3 separate regions of the Homo sapiens genome follow, and all the other regions are linked to region 3. The links are contacts of gene promoters, found by promoter capture Hi-C in blood cells and fetal thymus (Javierre and others, 2016). All regions are on one chromosome and are shown on one strand. Each heading gives the region's core, a stretch centred on a gene start or on the middle of the fragment in contact. The rest is flanking DNA. Distances are from core to core; before and after follow the strand shown.

Region 1 (3,383 bases), core at 141-2,640, 300 kb after region 3:
GTCACTGCACTCCAGCCTGGGTGATAGAGTAAGATCCCTGTCTCCAAAAATAAAGAAGAGCTCAGGCCGGGTGTGTTGGCTCACACCTGTAATCCCAGGACTTTGGGAAGCCGAGGTGGGCGGATCACGAGGTCAGGAGTTTGAGACCAGCCTGGCCAATATGATGAAACCCTGTCCCTACTAGTAATACAAAAATTAGCCACGCGTGGTGGCATGCGCCTGTAGTCCCAGCTACTTGGGAGGCTGAGGCAGAAGAATCGCTTGAACACGGGAGGCGGAGACTGCAGTGAGCCAAGATCGCGCCACTGCACACTCCAGCCTGGGTGACAGAGTGAGACTCCGTCTCAAAAAAAAAAAAGCTCAAAGAACTTATACCCAATATCACACAGTAAGTGGCACCTCAGTCTAAGTCCTCAGATGCTAGATGCAGGTCTTGCTATCACAGTGCTTCTCGTCTCTCATTGGTCTAAGGTCACGGTACTTCCATGGCTACCTCCATTTTACAGCATAATGCTGGGGCCAGTGGCAGCTTCCAAGATGCTAAACAAGACTAATCTATCTTGTTTTGCCTGTACACTGCTCACAAATGTTTCCCTTCCAATTTGAGTGACGAAAGCAGCAAATGCATTCTCCAGCTGAGAGACACTCCAAAGCTTCCTATTATTTTATACAGGCTGTGATCACATTTGACCCCTGAAGGCATTTGGTCATAAACCCTATGTAAATTCCACCTTATACATGGCATCTAGCACCTCCTGTTGAATGAAGGAATGGTCATGAGTAGTTCACCTCTTCACAGGCTCTTCAGAGTTCACTTTGTGAGTCAAGAGAACACTCCACTTTCGTGTCACAACCTTTATTTCCCCCATGGACACTAGTTGATTCATTACTACCTTTTACAGATCTGCTTCCTACACACTTTCTTTTCACATTTTTTTTTTTTTTTTGAGACAGTTACCCTCTGTTGCCCAGGCTGGAGTGCAGTGGCATGATCTCGGCTCACTGCAACCTCCACCTCCTGGGTTCAAGGGATTCTCTTGCCTAAGCCTCCGGAGTAGCTGGGATTACAGGCACATGCCACCATACCCAGCTAATATTTTTTGTATTTTTAATAGAGACAGGGTTTCACTACATTGGCCAGGTTGGTCTTGAACTCCTGGCCTCCAGTGATCTGCCTGCCTCAGCCTCCCAAAGTGGTGGGATTACAGGTGGGAACCACTGTGCCTGGCCCCTTTCACAAATTATTAACTACAACAGTTTAACAGCTATAGAGTCCTGGGCCTCTTAACATTTCTGTCCCTCATTCTCTATGCATGTACACACATACACACTTGGAAAATTAGATAGCCACTGAATCCTTCCAATAATAACTGATCTATCTTTCAGACTAATTTTCATAAGGCAAAGTTTGTAGCCAAAGAGAACTTTGTATCTTGAGCAGCAAAGGGTAACTTACAATTTTTCCAACTCAACTGTTACAGTCTAACTATAAAAACATGTATAGCTGAAAATTTGAGGAAGAAAAAATATTAATCACAAAATATCTCATTACCTACACAGAATCACTGCTGCCATGTTGACCTATGTACCAGACAGTGGGGATACAGCATTGACCAAAAGATACAGTCCTGATTCCTCATGGATTTTACTGCTGTTCTATTTTGTCCACATTATTCTCAAAACATATTTTTCCAAAACACACATTTGCTTTATTTTTTCAAAGGGTAATACGGCATATGGTGAAAACTATTTCAAATCGCATTCCCACTCCTGCCCCCAGTCCCTCTTCCCAAAGGCAACTTCTAAAAAGATATTATAACCTTCTAGATTATTTGCATAACCTTCTAGAAATATTCACATGTCCACAGGATGAGGATGTCCCTCCCTGTTTGGTTTGTCTTATTTGTCCTGCTTAGCAGAGAAAGGTACACGTTTTCAGAGATATCAAAGCTACAATACAGAAGCACATTATAAGCTCCACTTCTTTCTCAGAGTTCCCCTAATCTAATGTGAAAAGTTACAGGCAGAGTCCAGTGAAGAGGAATAAGCAAGCACAATCCTCCAACCTGTTAACCAATTCAAACTAATAGCAAAGATTAGACTGGAGAACTGAGGAAGGAAGCTTTTGAGACTATCACCAGAATCAGTGCCAAAGCAGGGAAGGGCCTCACGTGACCCTGGTTCTCATGGAGGAAAAAATTATCTTTATATATTCATTTTTTATTTTGTTTTTGTAGAAACAAGGTCTTGCTACGTTGCCCAGATGGTCTTGAACTCCTGGCCTTAAGCAATCCTCCTGCCTTAGCCTCCCAAAGTGCTGGGATTACAGGCTTGAGCCACCATATCCGGCCTTATATATTCTTTACAAATAAATGTATCTTTGTTTCTTTTTGGAAAATAAAACTCATTAGTAGAGAACAGAATGAGAGCAAAAGCATGTTTGTATTAGCTCTATAACTACCATTTCTTGGACAAACTTCCTAAGAGTTCAACATGCAGCGAGGCTCTGGTGGGCTGCCTTACTAGATCTTACCTGAGGAAGCACAGTTTAGGGGGCAGGTGAATGGGGAGTCATATTTCATGAGGCTGACTATGTGACTATCTTACCAGGCTCCTCATCCCACCCTGAGAAGCCTGCTTCGTGTAGGACTGGGGCAAAAAACAGAAAAGTGACAATCTCAAGGACCAAGACTGGCTGATTACAATGGTCCCCTTTTGGGGAGGTGAGGAATAATAGAGGGGTTACTAGCAAACATCTTCTATGAAAAGTACTAGAATTTTTTTAAAAAGTGGGCACGTGAGTTGCGGCCCAGGTTTTCGATTCCTAATGGCTTCAACATTCCAGTTAGTCCTCTCAGCTGAGCTTCACTGAGCTTATGAACACAAAATTTCATTAACTTTGTAGAGGCGGTGAGGCCTGAGGGACGTTAGGTGAACCCAGTGTACCAAGTGTACTTCCTCTTCCTCACCTCCCTTCTAAACTCCCACAGGACTGGGTTGACCACAAGGTTGGCTGACCCTGGTAGCTAAGTCAAACTCTACATTCTGAAGCAAGCATAAAGATTCAAACACATTTCAAGTAGCTCCTTCCCATCTAGATAGCATTATAAACCCTCAGGCTTTTAGACAAGCAACAGCAGCAGCAACGACCAACTTCAACTTGGAAGCCTAAATGAAATAAGAGAATGCTTGGTAACTTCAGAATGACACTTCCAAGATCCCCTGCAAGATGGCAAAATATACAACACAGAAGTCCAAATGTTCTCCCCACCTCGGCTATATCTGGAAACAATAGAACATACTAGTTTTTTAAGTATACAGACACAAGGATTAATTTGGTCCCCACCCAAATTGATAGACTGAAGTATTTCCATATAGATAAC
Region 2 (3,057 bases), core at 350-2,849, 350 kb after region 3:
TCTCACTATGTTGTTCAGGCTGGTCTCAAACTCCTGGGCTCAAGTAATCCTCCTGTGTTGGCCTCCCAATGTGCTGGGATGACAGGTGTCAGTCACCACACCCTGCCACACATATTGGTTTTCATACACAGTTCCTGGCTCATAACTCCCACAGCCCTTATTACAGTAAAAAGAATATCTCTCTCTCTGGTCTTTCCCTGCCTTCCTTTGACCTCCCCATGGCAGGACCCTAATCTGATTGTGGGTCATGAGACCCTTATTCCAGAGAGGGTCCTGCCCCGTACCCTAGAGGTAGAAATGCTGTACAGAGAGGCCAGGAAGAATCTGAACAGACAGAACAGGACTTGCTGGGTTTAGATCATACCTTTTTTTTTTTTTTTGAGACGGAGTTTCACTCTGCCACCAGGTTGAGTGCAGTGGCATGATCTCAGCTCACTGTAACCTCCGCCTCCTGGGTTCAAGCGATTCTTCTGCCTCAGCCTCCCAAGTAGCTGGGACTACAGGTGTGCACCACCACACACAGCTAATTTTTGTATTTTTAGTACAGACGGGGTTTCACCATGTTGGCCAGGATGGTCTCAATCTCTTGACCTCATGATCTGCCAGCCTCGGCCTCTCAAAGTGCTGGGATTACAGGCGTGAGCCACTGCGCCCGACCAGATCATACCCTTTTTGTCCAATCACATTTGAACCAGGTTATCCATACTTCAATCATGCCTATCCAATGAAGTCTCCATAAATGGCCCAGAAGACAGGGTTCAAGAACTTGGCCCAGAAGACAGGGTTCAAGAACTTCTGGATAAGGCTGGGCATAGTGGCTCACATCTGTAATCCTAGCACTTTGGGAGGCCAAGGAGGGCAGATCACCTGAGGTCAGGAGTTTGAGACCAGCCTGGCCAACATGGTGAAACCTCTTCTCTAATAAAAATACAAAAGTTAGCCAGGTATGGTAGCATACACCTGTAATCCCAGCTACTTGGGAGGCTGAGGCACGAGAATCTCTTGAACCCAGGAGGCGCAGGTTGCAGAGGGCCAAGATCATGCCACTGCACTCCAGCCTGGGTGACAGAGCCAGACTGTCTCAAAAGAAAAAAGAAAAAAAAAAAAGGCCAAGTGTAGTGGCTCACTCCTTTAATCCCAGCACTTTGGGAGGCTGAGGTGGGAGGATCACCTGAGGCTGGGAGTTCGAGACCAGCCTGACCAACATGGAAAAACCCTGTCTCTACTAAAAATACAAAATTAGCTGGGCATGTTGGCAAGTGCCTATAATCCCAGCTAGTCAGGAGGCTGAGGCAGGAGGAATTGCTTGAACTTGGGAGGCGGAGGTTGCAGTGAGCCGAGATCGTGCTATTGCACTTTAGCCTGGGAAATAAGAGCGAAACTCCGTCTCAGAACAAAACAAAACAAAGCAAAACAAAACAAAACAAAACAAAAACCTTCTGGGTAGCCAAACATGTGGAGGTTTCCGGGAGGGTGAACGGTTAAGAAGAACTCATGCAAGGGCCAGGAGAGTGGCCCATCCCAATACCATGAGGACAGAAGTGCCTGCACTCAGACCTTACCCTATGTTTCTCTTCATCTAGTTGTTTATTTGTATCTATTAAAATATCCTTAGGAATAATCTAGTAAATATAAGTAATTGTTTCCTTGAGTTCTGTGAGCTACTCTAGCAAATAAATCGCATCCAAAGACTGGTTTGTTGGAATCCCAACTTGAAGCTGGTCAGTCAGAGGTTCTGGATGCCTGGACTTGTCACTTGTGTCTGAAGAGGGAGTTGAATTTTTGGCACTGAGCCCTTGGTCTGTGGGATCTGATGCTATCTCCAGGTAGACAGTGTCAGAATTGAATTGGAGGGCACCCAGCTGGTGTCTGCTGCGGTATCGATTGCTTGCTTGTGGTGGGGAGAATCCCCCGCATTTCTTTCTTTCTTTCTTTCTTTTTTTTTTTTTTTTTTTTGAGATAGAGTTTCGCTCTTGTTGCCCAGGCTGGAGTGCAATGGTGCGATCTTGGCTCACTGCAACCTCCGCCTCTCGGGTTCAAGCGATTCTCCTGCCTCAGCCTCCTGAGTAGCTGGGATTATAGGTGCGCACCACCATGCCTGGCTAATTTTTTGTATTTTTAGTAGAGACGGGGTTTCACCATGGCCAGGCTGGTCTTGAATTCCTGACCTCAGGTGATCCACCCACCTAAGCCTCCCAGAGTGCTGGGATTACAGGCATGAGACACCGCGCCCAGCCACTCCCCCACATTTCATCACAGAAGTTTTCTGTGTTTATTGTTGTGTGGCGTGACAGCAGAGGAAAACATTTTGTTTTTCCTACCACTAGTGCAATTCCAAAACATCTTACTTTGGTTCTGCCCAACATTGAGATTGTTGGGGGTCATTCATTCTTCTCAAATAAAAAATATTATGCCCAGATAGCATGATAACAAAAGCTCACTCATTCCATAAATGTTTATTAAGTTTCATTAAGTGTCAGGAGCTAGACCAGATATTGAGGAAACAGCAATGACAAGAGAGAAATTCCTGCTTTTATTGAGCCTCAGTCAACAGGAAAGACGGATATTAAACAAACAATTATAAACAGGAGGAATATTTTGAAAGAGGAAGTACAAGGTGTAATAGCAAGGGGCTTATAACAGAGGAAGCTGGATGCAGTGTGGGAGTCTGAGAAAACTTCCTTGAGGAGCAGACATTTCAGCTAGGCCTAGAGGATGTAGAGGGGGTATTCCAGACAGAAAACACCACAGGTCTGTGGGTCTAAAAGAGAAATAGAGAGAGCAAGAGCAAGAGAGATGTTTGAAGAAAATAGAAGTCCTGGCTGGGCGTGGTGGCTCATGCCTATAATCCCAACACTTTGGGAGGCTGAGGTGGGCGGATCACAAGGTCAGGAGTTCGAGACCATCCTGACCAACATGGTGAAACCCCGTCTCTACTAAAAATGCAAAAATTAGCCAGGTGTGGTGGTGGATGCCTGTAATCACAGTCACTCAGGAGGCTGAGGCAGGAGAATCGCTTGAACCTGGGAGGTGGAGGTTGCAGTGAGCCGAGATCAC
Region 3 (3,160 bases), core at 69-2,568:
AGTGCACATTCTTTTAGCGATAACAAGAAAACCCGCTAGAACTTCTTTCAGCGTAAAAAAAATGGCTCAAAGCTTATAAAATACTATTGTTATTAGGAAATTCAAAAACACTTTTCTCACTTTCTAATTAGCGCCTTTACAGGCTAAAAACAACTCATCTGTGCTGCTCTTGGGGAAAGGGATACAGAAAATATTTGACCAAATAAATTAATCAAATTTATTTATTTGGTCAAGTGGCCAGATACTTAAAAATAGACTACTAGTGGGGAAAATATTCTAGGGGAGCAACCTTCTTGCAGTGGATCAGAAATCTCGTTAAGAAATACTGGGATCCCACAGTGTTCGAGGGAGCCCGGTCCTGGGGAGGGATCTCTCTCTTCAACTCACTTAGAAGGAATGGGTTCTAGGTAACAACAAAATCCTCTCCATGTCCCCTCCCCCGCCACCACGCGGAGCCTCTGCTATTGTCACCATATATCTCGCACCCTGCGCACCTCCTGGACACAAGGCCGGGCCGGGGGCTGCTGGTACTGATTCTCTGCTAAACATGCCAAGGGACTGCCTGGGCTTTTCTCTACATCACTTTTCTCGCCTGTAAAATGTGCAAGAAAAAAACTTCCAACAAAGCAAAACTTCAGCGGCAGCGGTTCGCCACTTTATATTTTAAAGATCGAAACGTTTATTGGTGGAGCAACGTGAGAGCTTTTCTTTTTGGGGGTGGTCCTGGGAGAAACACAATGACAAGTGCAACGCAGGACTGCAGGCTCCCCCAGGGGGCTTCCGCTCCATCCTCCTCCATATCCAACACCCCGTGGCAGGCGGGCTGCACCCTCCAAGATCGAGTCCAAAGGGGCATCGGCTGGGCCCGCGAAGGGGGTGGCACGCCCCACCTAAACGTGACTGGAAAAAACTCCAGATCTCAGCCCAAATGCCAGTTTGGCTTTCGGAGGAAACTGAGGCAGGGGTGAGGAGAAGGCGCAACAGTGACCCCCGCAGTCTCCCCTCGGCGTCCCTCCGCCCGCGCACCCCATTCCCGTGCATCTCTCACCTGGCCTGCGGGCCCGGGTGCGGGCAGACAACAGCGGGCCGCACAGACTGAAGCAGGCGGCCACCAGCAGCAGCCGCCGCGGCCCCATTGTCCCGGGCTCTGCGCGGCGCTGCTCCGGGAGGCTGCCCCGCCTCGGGCTGCTCCGCTTCACCCTCTCTCCTGACTTCTGCGGGTCGGGGAGCCGGTCTTCGCGGCAGGCAGAGCGCAGGGTGCCCACGGGTAAGATCAGGGTCCAAGCGACCCTCGGCGAGCGCTGTGTCTGGGGCGGTTAGCGGGGCGGGGCGGGACTGGGGCGCGCGGTCGCGCGGGCGCGAGCGAGGAAGGGCGCCCTCCGGCGTGCAGTGAGAGTCTCTGCGCTGGAGCCGCTCGGCGCCCCCTCCCCGCGGTCCCTCAGCCGCCGCTCGCAAGCCCCTCTGGCTCTGTGCGCCCCGCCCCGCCCCGCCCTGCCCTACTGGGGGGCCCTGGCCGCCGGCCACTGCCGGGCCTAGAAGTCCAAATGAGAAGTTTTTTCCTCTGGGCACCGTTGATTCGCGAAGCTGTCAGTGACTCACACTGGCGGGGTCCTTGGAATGGGGCCGCACGGCTCGCAGGCTGCTTCCCGCGGCCGTCTCGACCCTCCTGGGATGTGGAGACGTCGACAGTGGACGCCCCGGCCAGGATGCGTCCACGCCCTGCAGCCCCGCAGCCCTGGCGTGGCCTCCCGTCCTCCCTCCCTCCGTGTGGGACACCGGCAAAGTTCAGTTTTCGCTAAAAGTCTAAAAGGGACTTCTGCTTTTGTAACGTGGGGATCACGGATTTAAAAGTTTATGATGTAGTGACAGGGTTGCCCCTAAATGAGAAAGGGCCCTTGAGTCTGGACAGAATTCTTGAACTTTTATACGTCTCTCTTTATTTCGCGAAGTTAGGCGTTTCATACGCCGGGCACTCGTTTCCCCCACACGCAGACTGCGAGTGGAATAGGAAGAGCGGCTTCTCCCGCTTCCCCCCCGCGCGGCCTCGCGGAGCTCTTCCCTTTCCCGCGCCGCCCGCCGGGGTCACCTGCGCATCTGGGAGGAGGGCGCGCGTCTGCCGGTGAGGCCGGCGTTCTAGGGCCGCGGGCGCCCAGGAGAGAAATGGCCTGGTAACTTTCCAAGTGTCCTTCACACGTTCTTGAACGATATTACAGTTTGTTTTGTTTTTGAGGCAGGGTCTTGCCCTGTCGCCCAGGCTGGAGTGCAGTGGCGCCAACACGGCTCACTGCAGCCTCGATCTCCCTGGCTCAGGCCACCCTTTCGCCCCAGCCTCCGGATTACCTGGGACCACAGAAAGGCGCGCGCCACCATGTCCGGCTAATTTCACTGCTGGCCTCAAGCGATCCTCCTGCCTCAGCCTCCTAAAGTGCGGGGATTACAGGCGTGAATCACCGCGCCAGGCCTGATATTAAAGGAGTTTGGCTAAATTCAAGGCACAGGGCGGGGACACTCGCTTGGCAGTCTGCTAAGGGCCCCCAGGGGCGTCGCGGCTGGGGGTGGGCAGGAGGAGCCTGCAGCTTAAGTTGCTTTGCCACTGGCTCTGGTGCGTGCGCCTTTCAGACTCCAACAGGAAATGGGTCCCCAAATAGCTGTTTCTAGGAAAGCTCAGCCGCAGCCCCTTCTCCTCTTAACCCAGCGCACTGATGTGCGGGCATATTCGGAGTTCTGTGGTTGATAAGCTGCAGCTGAGAGCCGGTGGTCAGTTTTCTAAGCCTTTTTTAAAAGTGAATTTCGCACGAAGAGTATCATTCCCCCACTAGAGCCCGGACACTTACATCCGTGGAGAAAGTACGATCAGAGGCGATTTCGTTCTTCCCTGTATTCTCCCATCATCCTCAAAGGACAGTACCTTGTTGTACACAGAAGTTGATCACTAAATTGCGGAAGTACCCAGTTAAATAAAGCTTTTTAAAATCTATCCCCGTTCAGTTATCCTCTGGAAACATACCCAAGAGTAAATGTGAACAGTTAAAATTACATAGTTCTTCATTCACTATTAAACTATTTTTCATTATTCCTAAGACGTCATTGATTTTACAATTTATCATTTTAACCCATTACCACAAGCCAGAAAAAAATGTGACATACCAATGATTGTAAG

Evidence for each region. Contacts are between HindIII fragments. The CHiCAGO score rates a contact against its expected background, and 5 or more counts as called.
Region 1: a contact is called between a fragment that was not itself captured here and the fragment with the promoter of F2R in region 3, in 1 of 17 cell types (megakaryocytes). The highest score is 6.2, in megakaryocytes.
Region 2: a contact is called between a fragment that was not itself captured here and the fragment with the promoter of F2R in region 3, in 1 of 17 cell types (megakaryocytes). The highest score is 5.0, in megakaryocytes.

Annotation. Positions count from the first base shown.
Region 1 is chr5:76,413,507-76,416,889 of GRCh38, reverse strand. All of the region lies in intron 1 of IQGAP2 (IQ motif containing GTPase activating protein 2), which reads right to left. Among named protein-coding and RNA genes, the nearest start is that of IQGAP2, 12 kb to the right of the region's middle. The HindIII fragment of the contact is 1,469 bases long and covers 656-2,124 here.
Region 2 is chr5:76,368,648-76,371,704 of GRCh38, reverse strand. No RefSeq gene overlaps it. Among named protein-coding and RNA genes, the nearest start is that of IQGAP2, 33 kb to the left of the region's middle. The HindIII fragment of the contact is 3,807 bases long and covers 1-3,057 here.
Region 3 is chr5:76,714,284-76,717,443 of GRCh38, reverse strand. F2R (coagulation factor II thrombin receptor) reads right to left here and starts at 1,318. Exons shown (of 2, transcript NM_001992.5): 1 at 1,049-1,318. The coding sequence starts at 1,136. RefSeq lists a silencer at 1,263-1,512. The HindIII fragment of the contact is 2,891 bases long and covers 75-2,965 here.